Linked DNA regions of Homo sapiens: region 2 is linked to region 1. Evidence: promoter capture Hi-C in human tissues and cell types (Jung and others, 2019). All regions are on one chromosome and are shown on one strand. The core of a region is centred on a gene start or on the middle of the fragment in contact, and the rest is flanking DNA. Distances in the headings are between cores, read along the strand shown.

Region 1 (7,497 bases), core at 3,405-5,904:
AAAGTTTCTACACAACAAAGGAAACAATCAACAGAGTGAAGAGACGACCCACAGAAAATGTTTACAAACTATCTATCTGACAAGGGATTAATAACCAGAATATATAAGGAGCTCAAACAACTCAGTGGCAAAAAAAAAGCAAAAAACCCAAATGATCTCATTTAAAAATGGGCAAAAGATCTGAATATATATTTCTCAAAAGAATACATACAAATGGCAAACAGGTTTGTAAAAAAATGCTCAACATCACTAATAATCACAGAAATGTGAATCAAAACCACAGTGAGATGCCATCTCATCCCATTTAAAATGGCTTTTATTTTAAAAAAGACAGGGAATAATAGTTTTTGGTGAGAATGTAGAGAAAGCAGAACCCTCATTCATTGTTGATGAATATACATTATTTTTGGTGGAGTTCTTAGGTTTTTCAAACTATCAGATCATGTTGTCTGCAAACAAGACTAATATAATTTCCTCCTTTCCAATTTGGATGCCTTTTATTTCTTTCTCTTGCCTGATTGCTCTGACTAGGACTTCCAGTACTACGATTGAACAAAAGTGGTGAAAGTGGGCATCAGTACAGCCACTATAGGCAACACAATGGCGGTTTCTCAAAAAAATAAACATAGAACTACCATAAAATCCAACCTTTCCACTACTGTGTATATCTCCAAAAGAAAGCAAATCAATACATTGAAGAAATATCTGCACTCCCATGTTTATTGCAGCCCTATTCACAATAGCCAAAATATGGAATCAATCTAAGTGTCCACCTCAATGGATGAATGGATTAAAAAAAGTGGTACTATATGCAGTGGAATATTATTCAGCCATAAAAAGAATGAAATCTTGTTATTTGCAGCAACATGGATGGAACTGGAGGTCATTATGTTAAGTGAAATAAGCCAGGCACAAAGACAAATATCGCATGTTCTCACTCATATGTGGGAGCTTAAAAAGTGGATCTCATGGAAATAGTAGATTGGTGGTTATGAGAGGCTGGGAAGGGTATAGGGGACTGCGGGATGAAGCGAGGTTGATTAATGGATACAGATGTATAGTTTGATAGAAGAAATAAGACTGAGCATTAGAGATCAGTAAGGTGACTATAGTTTTCAGTAATCTATTGCATATTTCAAAATAGTCATAAGAGAAATAATTTGAATGTTTCTGGTATAAAGAAAAGACAAATATTTCAGGTGATGAATAGCCCATTTACACTGATTTGATATTTACAAATTATAATTGCATTCAATTATCATATGTACTCCAAAAACATATTCATCTATTATGCATAAATTTGAAAATAATAAACACTCATATAAGGAGACACACAGAAGAGATCTGACACACAGATCATGGGAGGTGACGTGACCTGAGATGCAGAGATCAAAGTGTTGGTGCCACAGACCCTGAAGCCAGGAGCCCCCAGAAGCTGGGAGAGGCCAGACAGGGTTTCTCCCCTGGCAGCTGGGAGAGGCCAGAGAGGGTTTCTCCCTTTCCTCATCTGGCAGGGGAGGAAAAAGGAATGTCCTGGCTGGGTGTGGGATTGTAGGAAGTGAGGGAGGGGGCGGGCTGATGCGGAAGGAGAACATTCCAGAGGGCACAGTGAGTCCCAAAGCCCCAAGCGGGGTGGCAGGAGCCAGCCTATCTGAGGAGCACCTGGGGCCATGGAATTAGAGTGGCGAGAACAGGGGAGGTCGGAAAAATTGGACCAGAGAGGAAACAGAGGTCAGGTGGGACAAATTCTTCCCTCAGAGGGTGCGGGCTGTGCAGGAACAAGGGTGGCCCATGGACAGCAGCTCCTCCAGTAGGGAGTGTGGGAGATAGATAGCCACTGAGGAGGGCGAAGGGCCCAAACAGGGAGCCAGGAGCGGGCTCAACAGCCTCTGCTTGGGTGCCCTCAGCCAGGCAGGGGCCAGCCTGGCCCCAGAGGCACAGGCTCACCTAATTGGCAGTGTGGGCCTTTCCATCATCAGGGGGATAATTGGACCCTGGAGTCCCTATGCTCATCAGAAAAAGCCACAGTGGTTTCTCCCCAGTGCCTCAGGCAGCCCACTTCTCAAGAGCATGTTCAAGGCTCGTCTGGTCACTGTGGCCAGACTGGGAGTTGCTGGACACAGGCAGAAGCCACTCTTCACTCCTGCAGGCAGCTGCAGCCGTTTGCAGTGAGGCTTCCAGACGCCCCAGGTAGGATCCAGCACTTTCCATGTTGCCGATGGGCTCCTTTCGCTGTGATTTTAGGGTACGTTGTATTCCTTGCATGGGGAGAGAGCTCTTCTTTTATGTGTGTGATTGACAATCCCCACTCCACATGCCCCCCACATACAGTCTGGAGCAGGGACTCCCCTCTGCAGTCTCACGGCCAGCACCAAGCAGGATGGCTCATGGATGCTCCATAAATGGCCCTTGCATTTTTGAGTACTGTGCTGGGTACATATTCACAGGCATTGGGTTATGCCCTGATGTCTAACATCATACCCAGAATCAGCCAGCAGCCTCAGGTGGCTGAATGGGGCAGACAGCATTTGCTCACTCATCATTGACGAGGACTGGTTCTGGGTGGCTCTGCCAGGCACCAGGGAAGGCATCAGAGTAAATGGCTGCAGGCTGATGGTAGGTGCAGCCGGGAGGAGCTACTGCAGTACCCGTCTCACGGACCACCCCAAAATACATCCGTTCTGTGGTACGGAAAGCTTCACTTTCCTCTCTCAGATTGGAGACCTAGGTTTGAATTTGTGACTGGGCAAAAACAGTCTTTGTAACATATTGGAGAACCTTGTTTACGATGAGAGGATGCCAGCCTCCCTCGGCAGCGTCCGCTTGGACTTTCAGTCTGTCCACAGAAACCAGGGAGGTACAGCCAAGTTAAAAAGGCAGCCATGCCCGCAGCGATGGGGTACCCTGGAACAGAAACGGGCATTCGAGGGAAAAAAAGATGAAAGCCAAAGTCTGGAGTTTAGTCCACAGTAATACCAATATCAATCCCTTACTGTGACAAATATACCCTCTTCATGTAGGAAGTTAGCCTTGGAGGAAGCTGAATGGAGGATCTCCCAGAGCTCTCTGCACTCTCTTTGTAACTTTTCTGTAAATCTAAAATTATTCCAAAATAAAAAGTTTATTTAAAAGAAAATGCAGCCATTGTCTAACAAGTTCAGGGGATGGATAGAGTGTGCTGTAAAGGGCCCTGAATTTGTAAAGTAACACAGTTTCAATTTAATGAATCAATCCGGTATTAACTAGCCAACTCACTAATGATCAGTTACCACTATCCAAATAATCAAGAGAAATCTATAGGTGCCTCTACTGTTCTGGGTTAAAAGCACAAGAACCAAAGCTCACTACCCCCACCGCCAGCTCTCCCCAGCAAACCCAGTCAACAGGTGGGGGCTGCTGGCCTTCCAAGGAGCTCCTGTGGACCCCAACTTTCCTCCTTGTGGACTTTAAAGCCCCCTGTGGCCACTCAGCTGGGAAGAGGACACAGTCACCACCCTGGATGGTGTCTAGAGAGGCTACATTCAGACTCACATCTTGAGACCCCTTTAATGGCAGGGGTTCTTATTGCTTTTGTTTTGGGGAGACAGTAGGCGGTGACTGGAGTGAGTAGTAAATGCTTGTGAAATTGATCCTAAACTCTGAACTGCACGCTGGCATTTTAAGGCAGGGAATGGCCATGCCGCCCCAGTGGATGATCTTGGGTTCCCACAGAATGCTCACCCTAGACGGCAGGAGTACAGGTGCGTTTCCAAGTGTAAACCTGTCCCTGGGCAATTCCCTTCTAGAAGTTTGTTTTTCAGCCTGCAACTCTTCCATGAACTCGACTTGTCTAGCCAACCCCCTACACGTCACCATGAGGCTCTCCAGTAAGTGCCGCGCACCACGCCTCCCCAGCACAGACTCCAGATTATTCGGCACCCACCTGGCCCTCTCCTAGTCTTCTCATCAATTTTTAGCATCCTGGGCCAGAAACCTGGGGTCACCCTCCCCAGCTGTGAGCTGGTGGAAGTCTGCCATTCAACCCACCTAGACTGCCAATGAAAAGAACCACCAGATGCCCTGTGGGGCAAGGGGCTGTGGCTACCCTCTCTCTCCCCCACCTGTGGACCAGGTCCCCCAGAGCCAGGCAGCCCTTTCCTGGGAGCCCTCCCTGCATTCCTCCGGCTGGTTAGCCCAGTTTGGGGTTCTGCCCTGGTAGGCTGATAGCCCCTCACCTCATGCCGAGGCTGCTGCCCCGACTTGCAGGAACCCTCAGATGAAGGACCCTAAGGAGGGCCAGCTCTGTGTCCATGCCCACTTGGATCTTGAGAGCTGCCCCAGGCACGTGTGGACTGGTAGTGCCCCTGGACTCAGAGCTTTGGGTTTTGCCCACCCTGGAGCTGCCCGGCTCTGTTCCTCAGCATATACTCTCTTCCTCATTCCTACTTCATGGTTATATGTAAATGCAAGCACACAGAAGTTTTCTACTTTAAAACTCAGAAGATCAGCAGATCACTGCTCTCTCCTGGTGCTCTGGGGAGCCACGTGGCCTCTCTTTGCACCAAAACTCCCCATCCAAGTCCAGCTCCACTCTCTCTCTGCCTCAGCTGCCCTGCAGCCCTTTCCTCTTGCTCTTTGATGTTTTGTAGGCCTGCAGCTCCCAAGCACAGAGGCATGAGTGGGGAGAATGTCACCAAGGTCAGCACCTTCATCCTGGTGGGCCTCCCCACGGCCCCAGGGCTGCAGTACCTGCTCTTCCTCCTCTTCCTGCTCACCTACCTCTTTGTCCTGGTGGAGAACCTGGCCATCATCCTCATCGTCTGGAGCAGCACCTCCCTCCACAGGCCCATGTACTACTTTCTGAGCTCCATGTCTTTCCTGGAGATCTGGTACGTGTCTGACATCACCCCCAAGATGCTGGAGGGCTTCCTCCTCCAGCAGAAACGCATCTCTTTCGTCGGGTGCATGACGCAGCTCTACTTCTTCAGCTCCCTGGTGTGCACCGAGTGTGTGCTTCTGGCCTCCATGGCCTACGACCGCTACGTGGCCATCTGCCACCCGCTGCGCTACCACGTCCTTGTGACCCCGGGGCTGTGCCTCCAGCTGGTGGGCTTCTCCTTTGTGAGTGGCTTCACCATCTCCATGATCAAGGTCTGTTTTATCTCCAGCGTCACGTTCTGTGGCTCCAACGTCTTGAACCACTTCTTCTGTGACATTTCCCCCATCCTCAAGCTGGCCTGCACGGACTTCTCCACTGCAGAGCTGGTGGATTTCATCCTGGCCTTCATCATCCTGGTGTTTCCGCTCCTGGCCACCATACTGTCATATTGGCACATCACCCTGGCTGTCCTGCGCATCCCCTCGGCCACCGGCTGCTGGAGAGCCTTCTCTACCTGCGCCTCTCACCTCACCGTGGTCACCGTCTTCTATACAGCCTTGCTTTTCATGTATGTCCGGCCCCAAGCCATTGATTCCCAGAGCTCCAACAAGCTCATCTCTGCCGTGTACACTGTTGTCACGCCAATAATTAACCCTTTGATTTACTGCCTGAGGAACAAGGAATTTAAGGACGCCTTGAAAAAGGCCTTGGGCTTGGGTCAAACTTCACACTAAGACAACTAAATGTCCTAGAGTAAAATCTGTAGTGATGAAACAACATTGTATGTGGCACTTTGTGCTCTTTAAATTAATTTTTAAGTTAAATTTAACAAACCTACAGAACTAAGTGAAATTTAACAAACCTACACAACTGTGCACAAGTAACAAGCCTTCGTCTGCATATGTTTTCACAAAAGGACTGTGCTCATGGAACCAGCTCCCAGATCAAGAACTAGAAGCTGCCTTCACGCCCTCTCCCAGTCATTAACCCTTCTCCACAAAAAGCACTGTCCTGACTTCCAAAACCAGATGCTAGCATTGGTGTTTCTGAGGGGCTTACACATAAAGTATGTGCCCTGTTATGTTCAGCTTCTTTCATTCACCGTGTTGCTTGAGTGAATCCTTGATGTTTTTGCATGTAACAATAATTCATGCATTCTCATTGCTATCCAATATTCATAATAAATAATACATTTATACTGTATAATACACAATGCATAATACATTCATACTGGGATAATACATATACTGGGATAATGCATATACTGTATTGTGTATTATATATACATAATACATTATGCTGGGTGAAACCCTGTCCCACCTGTCCCAGCAGGTGTGAGCCACTGTGCTCATCCATAATTTATGCATCTAAACACAGATAAGGTAAGTCAAAATATAATGTCATAATCTTATGGGACCACCATCTTATGTGCCGTTCAGTTCATCATTCACCAAATGTCATTGTGTGGTGCACTACTGCGTCAGTTGAGAATATTTGTGCTGGCTTATTTCTGGATCCTCTGTTCTGTTAAATTGATCTACGTATCTATCAATATCACACCCTCCATCCATACAACACAGTCTTGATTTATATGATTATGTAGTAAATCTTAACACTGGAAGAGTGACTCCTCCCACTTTATTCTTCTGCTTCAAAATTATTGTGGCTATTGTACAGCCTTTATATTTTTATATAAATTTTATAGTAAGCCTGTCAATGTCTACAAGAGAACCTCGCTGAGATTTTGCTAGAAATTCCATTAAACCTAAAAATCAATTTGGGAAGAACTGACTTCATTACTCTGTTGAGTCTTTCAATCCATGAACATAGTAAACCCCTCCAATTATTGAGGTCTTCATTCTTTAAATCAGTGTTTTGTACTTTTTAATATGCAGATTCTGTGTGTGTTTTGCTGGATTTAGACCTAAATATTATATTTTCTTTGAAGCAACTGTAAATGGTATTCCATCTTTTATTTCAGTTTCCTTCTGTTTGTTGTTAGTACATAGGATGCAGCTGATTTTCATATGTTGACATTGCAGCCTGCAAACTTGCTGCGCTCACTCATTAGTTCCAGGAGGTTTTTGTAGATTCCTTTGGGTTTTCTATGTGAACAGTCATGTCAACTAAAAATAGACAGTTTTATTTCTTCCTTTCTGATCTGTATGAATTTCATTTTTTATTTTTTGCCATACTGCATGGCCTATTACTAGAACTTCCAGTGCTCTGTTGAATAAGAGTGGGCAGAGCAGATATCCTTGCCTTGTTTCCTCCTTAGAAGGCAAGCATTCAGTCTTTCATGATTAAGTACAATGATGCAGAGTTTTCACGCATGTGCTTTATCAAGCTGAAGCAGCTCCCCTTTAGTCCTTATTTGCTGAGAGCAGTTTTTGTTTTTATCATAAATGAGTATTTAATTTTGTCAAGTGATGCAGAAAACTGCATCAGGCAATCTGGTCATAGATTTCGTCTTTCACCTGCTGGTAAGGTGTATTACATTGGTTGATTTTCAAATACCAGATTAGCCTTGCATCTTCTGAATAAACCACCTTGGGTTGTGGTGTATGATTCATTTCATATAGTGTTGGATTCAATTTGCTAACATTTCGTTAAGGATTTTTGTGTCTAAGTTCACGAGA
Region 2 (7,497 bases), core at 1,473-3,972, 41 kb before region 1:
ACCAAGTTGCAGTTAAAGTAGTATAGCCAAAGTGTCACACAACAGCGTCCCAGAACCTTCCAAAGACACAGCACGATATGTCTGCTGCCCTCTCATTTTTCTCTTCCTTTAGCCTGCTATTTATTAGGCAGATGTCACCATGTGGAGCCAGGACTTCAAGTTCAACATTGGTGGAGCAAAAAGGCAGAAGGAATGTGAGTTACCATCATGCACCAGTGCTGCACCACCTGCCAGGAACTTCACATAAAAATAAACGACCCTGGCCGGGCGTGGTGGCTCACACCTGTAATTCCAGCACTTGGGAAGCCGAGGCGGGCAGATCATGAGGTCAAGAGATTGAGATGATTCTGGCCAACATGATGAAACCCCATCTCTACTAAAAATACAAAAACTAGCTGGGCGTGGTGTCACGTCCCAGCTACTCGGGAGGCTGAGGCAAGAGAATCGCTTGAACCCAGGAGGCGGAGGTTGCAGTGACCCAGATTGCACCACTGCACTCCAGCCTGGGCAACAGATTGAGACTCCGTCTCAAAAAAAATGACCCTTTCTTTTATTTAAGCCACTGTTGTTTGGGTTTTCCATCACTCACAGCTACTTGAACCATAAGTAACAGGACTTTTCTCCATGTGCCCTTCCTTTCTGTCTGTGGCTTTGTGGGAGCAAGGTATGATGTCTGGAGCTACGGTAGCCATCTTCATGCCATGAGTCAACCACCCTGAGCATGAAAGTCAACACTCTGAGGAGGGGCGAGGAGGAGGAAGAAAAAACCTGCACCTCTGAGCACTTGAAACAACCTTCAGACCAACCAGTCCTGGGCTTGTTATGCATGGTAATAGCACTATTAATTTTAAACCACTTTTAGTCAAATATTGGTTGCTTTCAGCCAAAAACATCCTAAATAAGTCAGATATGTTAATTGAAACTAAATTGTTAGTGGAGAAATAGACAAACAGATCAGTAGAACAACCTCTAGAGTCCAAAACAGATGTTTGTAAACATGGGATTTCAGACCAGTGGAGTTTGGGGCAATAGGCTTTTTACTTGGGGGAAAAGTGAGAATCCTACCTCAAATAATACAAAGAATAAACTCCAGATGGATTGAAATCAAAATATAAAAGTAATACAAATAAATAGAAGAATATTTTTGTGGTCTTGGAGTAGAGAAGTTTTTTTTATAAAGCTACAAATCTTAGAGGAAATAAAAAAAATTTAAGCTTCTCTATAATGAAGGACACTACAGATGAAGTTGGTAGATAAATAGAAAAACCTGGAAACAATATCCAAAACATGCTAGGCGAGTGAAAAATAATTATTGGGATATATTGAGAATTCTTACACATCAATAAGAAAAAGATTTTTAAAAAACTAACTGGAAGGCCAGGCGTGGTGGCTCACACCTGTAATTCCAGCACTTTGGGAGGCCGAGGCAGGTGGATTATGAGGTCAGGAGATCGAGACCATCCTGGCCAACACCGTGAAACCCCGTCTGTCCATTGAGATGGACAGACTGGACTCCATCTCAAAAAAACAAAACAAAACAAAACTAACTGGAGATGGACAAAGGTTAGAAACGCACAAATATAGGAGAGGAAATACAAATGAACGATCAACATGAAAAGATTGTAAGTCTCAATGATAAACATCAATTTTCCATGAACAAAGTAAACTATGAGGTTAAATATGCTCAACCTCAATGAAGAGACATTAAATTTCAATGATTGGGGAAAATAAAACCCGAAATAGTTATGTTTTGTTCATAAGTTTGTCAAACATTAAAAGGATCGCTGGCACCTGGTTTTTGATAAGAATGTCATCTTCACTTGGTTATCTCAGAGATCTCTCATAATGGACCTATCCAAAAAAATCCTCTCTTAATCTTTCCTTCCCAATCTCTTCTTTATTTCATTTCTGGATCTTCCATTCATCACTCAAGCCAAACATCTGAAATTCTTAAAAACATCTTTTTCTTTCTCTTATAATATCTAACTTATTTCCAGTCATAACCTGCATCATTAAGACATTTAAAAGTGGAAACAAGGCCCAGCACAGTGGCTCATGCCTGTAATCTCAGCACTTTGGGAAGCCGAGGTGGGCAGATTGCTTGAGCTTAGGAGTTCGAGACCAGCCTGAGCAACACGGCAAAACCCCACCTCTACAAAACATACGAAAATTAGCCGGGCATGGTGGTGCACACCTGTAGACCCAGCTACTTGGGAGAATGAGGTGGGAGGATCGCTTGAGCCCAGGAGGTTGAGGCTGCAGTGAGCTGTGATCATGCCACTGCCCTTCGGCCTGGACAACAGAGTGAGAACCTAACTCAAAGAAAAGAAAAGAAAAGCGAAAACAATAACACAAGTTTTAGCATATGTAGGATAACTTCATTCATGTTAAAAATATTCAATACATATCCATGTGAAAATCAATGTATATAAATGCAAAGGCAAATAACTGGGTGATGTAAGTCTATTTACATCACTTACTTCTGCCAAGGATAATGGGGAAGGAAAAGGGAGATTGGAAAGTAAGAGGGGGCTTCAGTGTCTCATTTCTTATTCTTATAAATTTATAGACTTCTTTCCATGTGACTGTGTTTCCAAGAAATAAGATAGCTGAATCGATAAACTTATTGTTTTAAAAAATATGAACTAACAGACAGCTACAGCTATTATGACAATTCCCCATAAATACCCAAACCCATTTTCCATGTTTTATTTATATGTTCTAAACGCTTTGTTGCATATTCCTCCAGATTATATATTTCTGGGTGCCTATCTCTGTGTCTGTCTGTTATTTTCTCCCTCTCTTTTTCTGACAGAGTCACAGTTTTTCTCTATATGGGTGGACTACAGTTTACATGCTTTATTTAACCAATGTCCTATTGAAAGATTTTTTTTTTTTTTTTTGGCAGGGTCTCACTCTGTCACCCAGGCTGGAGTGCAGTGGCCCGATCTCAGTTCACTGCAACCTCTGCCTCCCGGGTTCAAGTGATTCTCCTGCCTCGGCCTCCCGAGTAGCTGGGATTACAGGTGCACATCACTATGCCCGGCTAATTTTTGTATTTTTAGTAGAGATGGGGTTTCACCATGTTGGCCAGGCTGGTCTCGAACTCCTGACCTCAGGTGATCTGCCTGCCTTGGCCCCCCAAAGTGCTGGGATTCTAGGCCTGAGCCTCCATGCCCGGCCCCTACTGAAAGATTTATAAGTTGTTTCTTATATATTTATAATTTGTTTCTTATATTTCCATTGTTTCCTAAGGGACTGCAACAAAAGTCTGTCTGCACCAGAACAATGATTTTTGGAGGCGAGATTCATAATAATAGATGAAGAGTGTCAGAAGGTAGGTTCCTTTTACAAGGGCTGATAAATTATCCTCCAAACATGAAATGCTAATTAACACTTCAAAGTGCTGAGTTGGCCTATTTCCCCACAACCTGTGATGATTAAATTTAATTAGTATTTTTGAATTTCAGCTACTCTGACAGGCCCGAAGAAAAAATAATACTTCAATGTTATTTGTCAAACCGTATTCACTTAATTTTAAGTGATGTCAATCATATTTTCTTACATTTTTTGGCCACTGATAATTCTTTTTTTGAAGTTTTAAATCATATTCCGTGTTTATCTTGGAATATAGAAGCTGTTGGAAAGTTTACCTTTCGTGAATCCATTTTTTAAAATTACTAGAAATTTGACCAAATGATGCTTGACTTGGGATAAAACATCAATTTAAGAAAAATAAATGTTCAAGAAACACAGCAGTGAATAATGAATTCAGAGGCCGGACTTCCAAAATGGTGGCATGAGGGTTTCTATAAATCTGATCCTCCAGGCCAGGTGCAGTGGTTCATGCCTGTAATCCCAGCACTTTGGGAGGCCGAGGGGGGCAGATCACTTGAGGTCAGGAGTCTGGCCTGGCCAACTTGGTGAAACCCCCATCTCTACAAAATATACAAAAAAAATTAGCTGGGCATGGTGACAAATGCCTGCAATCCCAGCTACTCGGGAGGCTGAGGCAGGAGAATTGCTTGAATCCAGGAGGTAGAGGTTTCAGTGAGCCAAGATTGCGCCACTGCACTCCAGCCTGTGGGACAGAGACAGACTTGTCTCAAAAAAAAAAAAAAAAAAAAAAAAAATTCCTCCATTAAAGTAACAAGAATACTGGCAAAATTATCAAAGTCAACTTTTTCAAAATTCCAGAAATTAGCCAAAGTTCATGACGCTCTGAAAAGTGTTTACAAAAGAAAAATGACTGAAACTTGGTTAGAATAGCAAGGGCTATGGCATTTTAACTTGATATCTCTCATCTCATCTTTCCCACCAACATGGTGTGGTAGCCTGGAAAACCAGCTGCCTTGCAGCCACCAAAAGGGAAAGGCTGGTTTTGAAACTTCTCAAGAAGACAACCCTAGAGCATTGTCACTGTGACCTGCAGTTCCCCAAGAAATCCGTATTTATGTCATGGCTATTGGATCTGACCCAGAGAGCTCAGTTATACCCCTAGGGCATTGTTGAAGAGTCAGCAGCAATTGTTTACCTTTGCAATTGCCTAATGCTGCAATATCATTATTTCTAGGGCAAATAAGAACTCAACTAAAAATGTAAAAGAAAGACATGGGGTGTAAGATATCCAGAGGCTTTGAAAAGCTCCTATGTATTCCTGGGGATCCAGAAGTCTGCATACAAGCATATGTCTGCATGCCTGCCCAGGAAAGACTAGAGGAGCCCAGTCAGTCACCTCTGGCTGACCTTGAGGCCCTGTACAAGCAGAAAGTAAAGGTTAAGACAGATTTGAAGGAGTGACTCTAACACACACAGATACCCTTAGGAAAGGGTGGAAGACTTACTGGCTGATGGCATTTAAGAAAATCTAAATGAACATTGACTGACAATTAAGTCAAGGTGAGTCAAGGGTGACTCTTAGAAAGCCAAGCTTAAAAATAAAAACCAAAATTTAAAAAATACCCAGAGGCTTCAGTGGCCATAAACTGTAGAGAAAACAGACTCTACAGAATAATCTGAGGAAGGTCATCAAACAAACAAACAGCAACAAAACCACCTACAACAAACCAAGGGTGGGCTTATACCAGAGTTGTCACATTATATTATTTAAAATGTCAATTTATCAATGAAAAATGATGAGACACAAAGAAACAGGATAGTATGTCTCACACAGAAAAATAAAGCTGTCACTTAAAACTGTTCTTAATGGTACTTAGATGGTGGTTTGTCTAAAACTTATTAGACAAACACATGAAATCAGCCACTGCAAACATGTTCAAAGAACTGAGGAAAATCATGTTTAAATAATTCAAGGAAAGTATGTACAATGATGTCTTATCAAATGGAAAATACCAATACAGAGATAGAAATTACCCATCATATTATTATATATAATATACATATATATATATATAAAGATATATATATATATACGTATATCCCCAAATAGAAATTTTTGGGACAAAAAGTACTATAACTGAAATAAAAGAATTTACTAGAGGTGCTCAACTATAGAAAAAAGAATCAGCAGACTTGTAGATAGGTCAATAGAGATTATTCAGAGTAAGAAACAGAAAGACTGTAGAATGCTTAAAAATAATCAAAGCATCAGAGACTTACAGGATACCATCAAGTGTACCAACCCATACTTACTAGGAGTCCCAGAAGGAGAGGAGCAAATTAAGCATAAAAAGGATTTGAATAAATAATGGTGGAAAACATCCCAAACTTGATGAAAAACATTAATCTATAAATAGAAGAAGCTTAATGAATTTCAATTACAATAAATCCAAAGGGATCCACTCCTAAACATATCATAGTCAAACTTTCAAAAGCCCAAGACAATAAGAGAAAGCAGCAAGGCAAAAAATGGCTCCTCATATATCTAATACTCAATCAGATTAATGCTTAACATCATCAGAAATGATGAAGCCAGAAGGTAGTGGAATAACATATTCAAACTGCCAAAAGAAAAATTACATAACACTGGAATAACCTAATATAACACTGGAATAACCTAACATAACACTGGTATAACATGAAAAATGGCATCTGACTTTTCCTTGTACACAATGGAGGCTAACAATGGAACAACATTTTTAAGGTATTGAAAGGAAAACACTGTCAGCATAGAATTCTATGCCCAGCAAAAATATTCTTCAAAATGAATGCTAAATGAAGACATTATCAGGCACAGAGAAGCTGAGATCATTTGGAACCTTCAGGCCTGCACTAAGAGAAATTCTAAAGGAAAATCTCCCAGCGTAAAGAAGATGATATTAATTGGAGCCCTGAATCTTCAATGAAGGAATAAACAGGACTTGAAAGGGTAAGAATGAACATATGAGCAAAGGCAAAATAATTTTTTTTAGAAAGCAAAAAACAAACAAACAAAAAGTTCAGGAGGGGAGTACATGAAATTATACAAATGTAACATTTCCATATAGTTCATCTTATAGCATAGTATTAATTGAAGATAGACTGTAATATGTTAAAGGTACATATTTCAACTTCTAGAATAACCCCTGAAACTAACTGTATTAACTTCCTATTGTTGCTGTAACAAACTCTATTATCTTACAATTCTAGAGGTCATAGTCTAAAGTGGGTCTTATGGAACTAAAATCAAGGTGTGAAAAGAGCTGCATTTCTTCTGGAGTCAATTCAGAAGAGTCTGAATTTTCCTGTGTCCAGAAGCTGCCCACATATCTTGGCTCTTGGCTGCATCACACTGGCTTGGGTTTCCACCATTATATCTCCTTCTGTGACTCTTGCCTTCCTCTTCCATATTTTAAGGACTCTGCGATCACATTGAACCCACGAAGATAACCCAGGGTAGTTTTCCTATCTAAGGATCCTTGTCTTAATCACATCTGCAAAGTCTTTTTGCCATGTAGGGTAACATTAGCAGATTCTGGAGATTAAAATGTGGACATCATTAGGGGAATATTATTCTGTCTACCACACTAACAAAAGAAATGTAGCTAAAATATCAACATGGAATATAAAGCAGAACATTTTAGAGGTGCATAATTTATCCAAAAGAGGAGAGTAAAAGAGAAACAGAAACAATGAACAAAGGAAATAGAAAGACATTAAAATGGGAATCTTAGGACATGTCATTTATTGTATTAAGTGTAAATTGAGTAAATACTCTACACAAAAGAGTTAACTTTATTTTTAAATTTTAAAATACGTAACTTTGCTTAAAAGAGGCAAATTGTTTTGAAACAATGAAGTTGAGTGCTGTTGACTCAACTACTCTGTGCTGAATTCAAAGAGATCTGTCTCATTTCCTTAGTGGTTTCCTGAGCTCTAATAGATAGGAACAAGCATCTTTCTCCTCAAATATCCATGGCAAAGGCTGAAAAGTATTAAATTAGCATTTTCCCTTTCCCAGGAAGAATGGGGGATGTAGGCCAAGCAAAGCGGAAGAATTTTCCAAAAATGCTTGACTGTGAAATTCTCAGCCCAACACAGGTTGACCAGTCAAAATAA

Evidence for each region. The method cuts DNA at HindIII sites, captures the fragments that hold promoters and counts their contacts. A contact is called where the count stands out against the background at its distance.
Region 2: a fragment that was not itself captured here is called in contact with the fragment with the promoter of OR6B2 in region 1 in 2 of the 25 tissues and cell types used here (dorsolateral prefrontal cortex and liver).

What each region holds. Positions count from the first base shown.
Region 1 is chr2:240,027,586-240,035,082 of GRCh38, reverse strand. OR6B2 (olfactory receptor family 6 subfamily B member 2) reads left to right here and starts at 4,654. Exons shown (of 1, transcript NM_001005853.1): 1 at 4,654-5,592. The coding sequence starts at 4,654. The coding sequence ends at 5,592. The HindIII fragment of the contact is 5,539 bases long and covers 39-5,577 here.
Region 2 is chr2:240,067,015-240,074,511 of GRCh38, reverse strand. No RefSeq gene overlaps it. Among named protein-coding and RNA genes, the nearest start is that of OR6B3, 17 kb to the right of the region's middle. The HindIII fragment of the contact is 5,248 bases long and covers 99-5,346 here.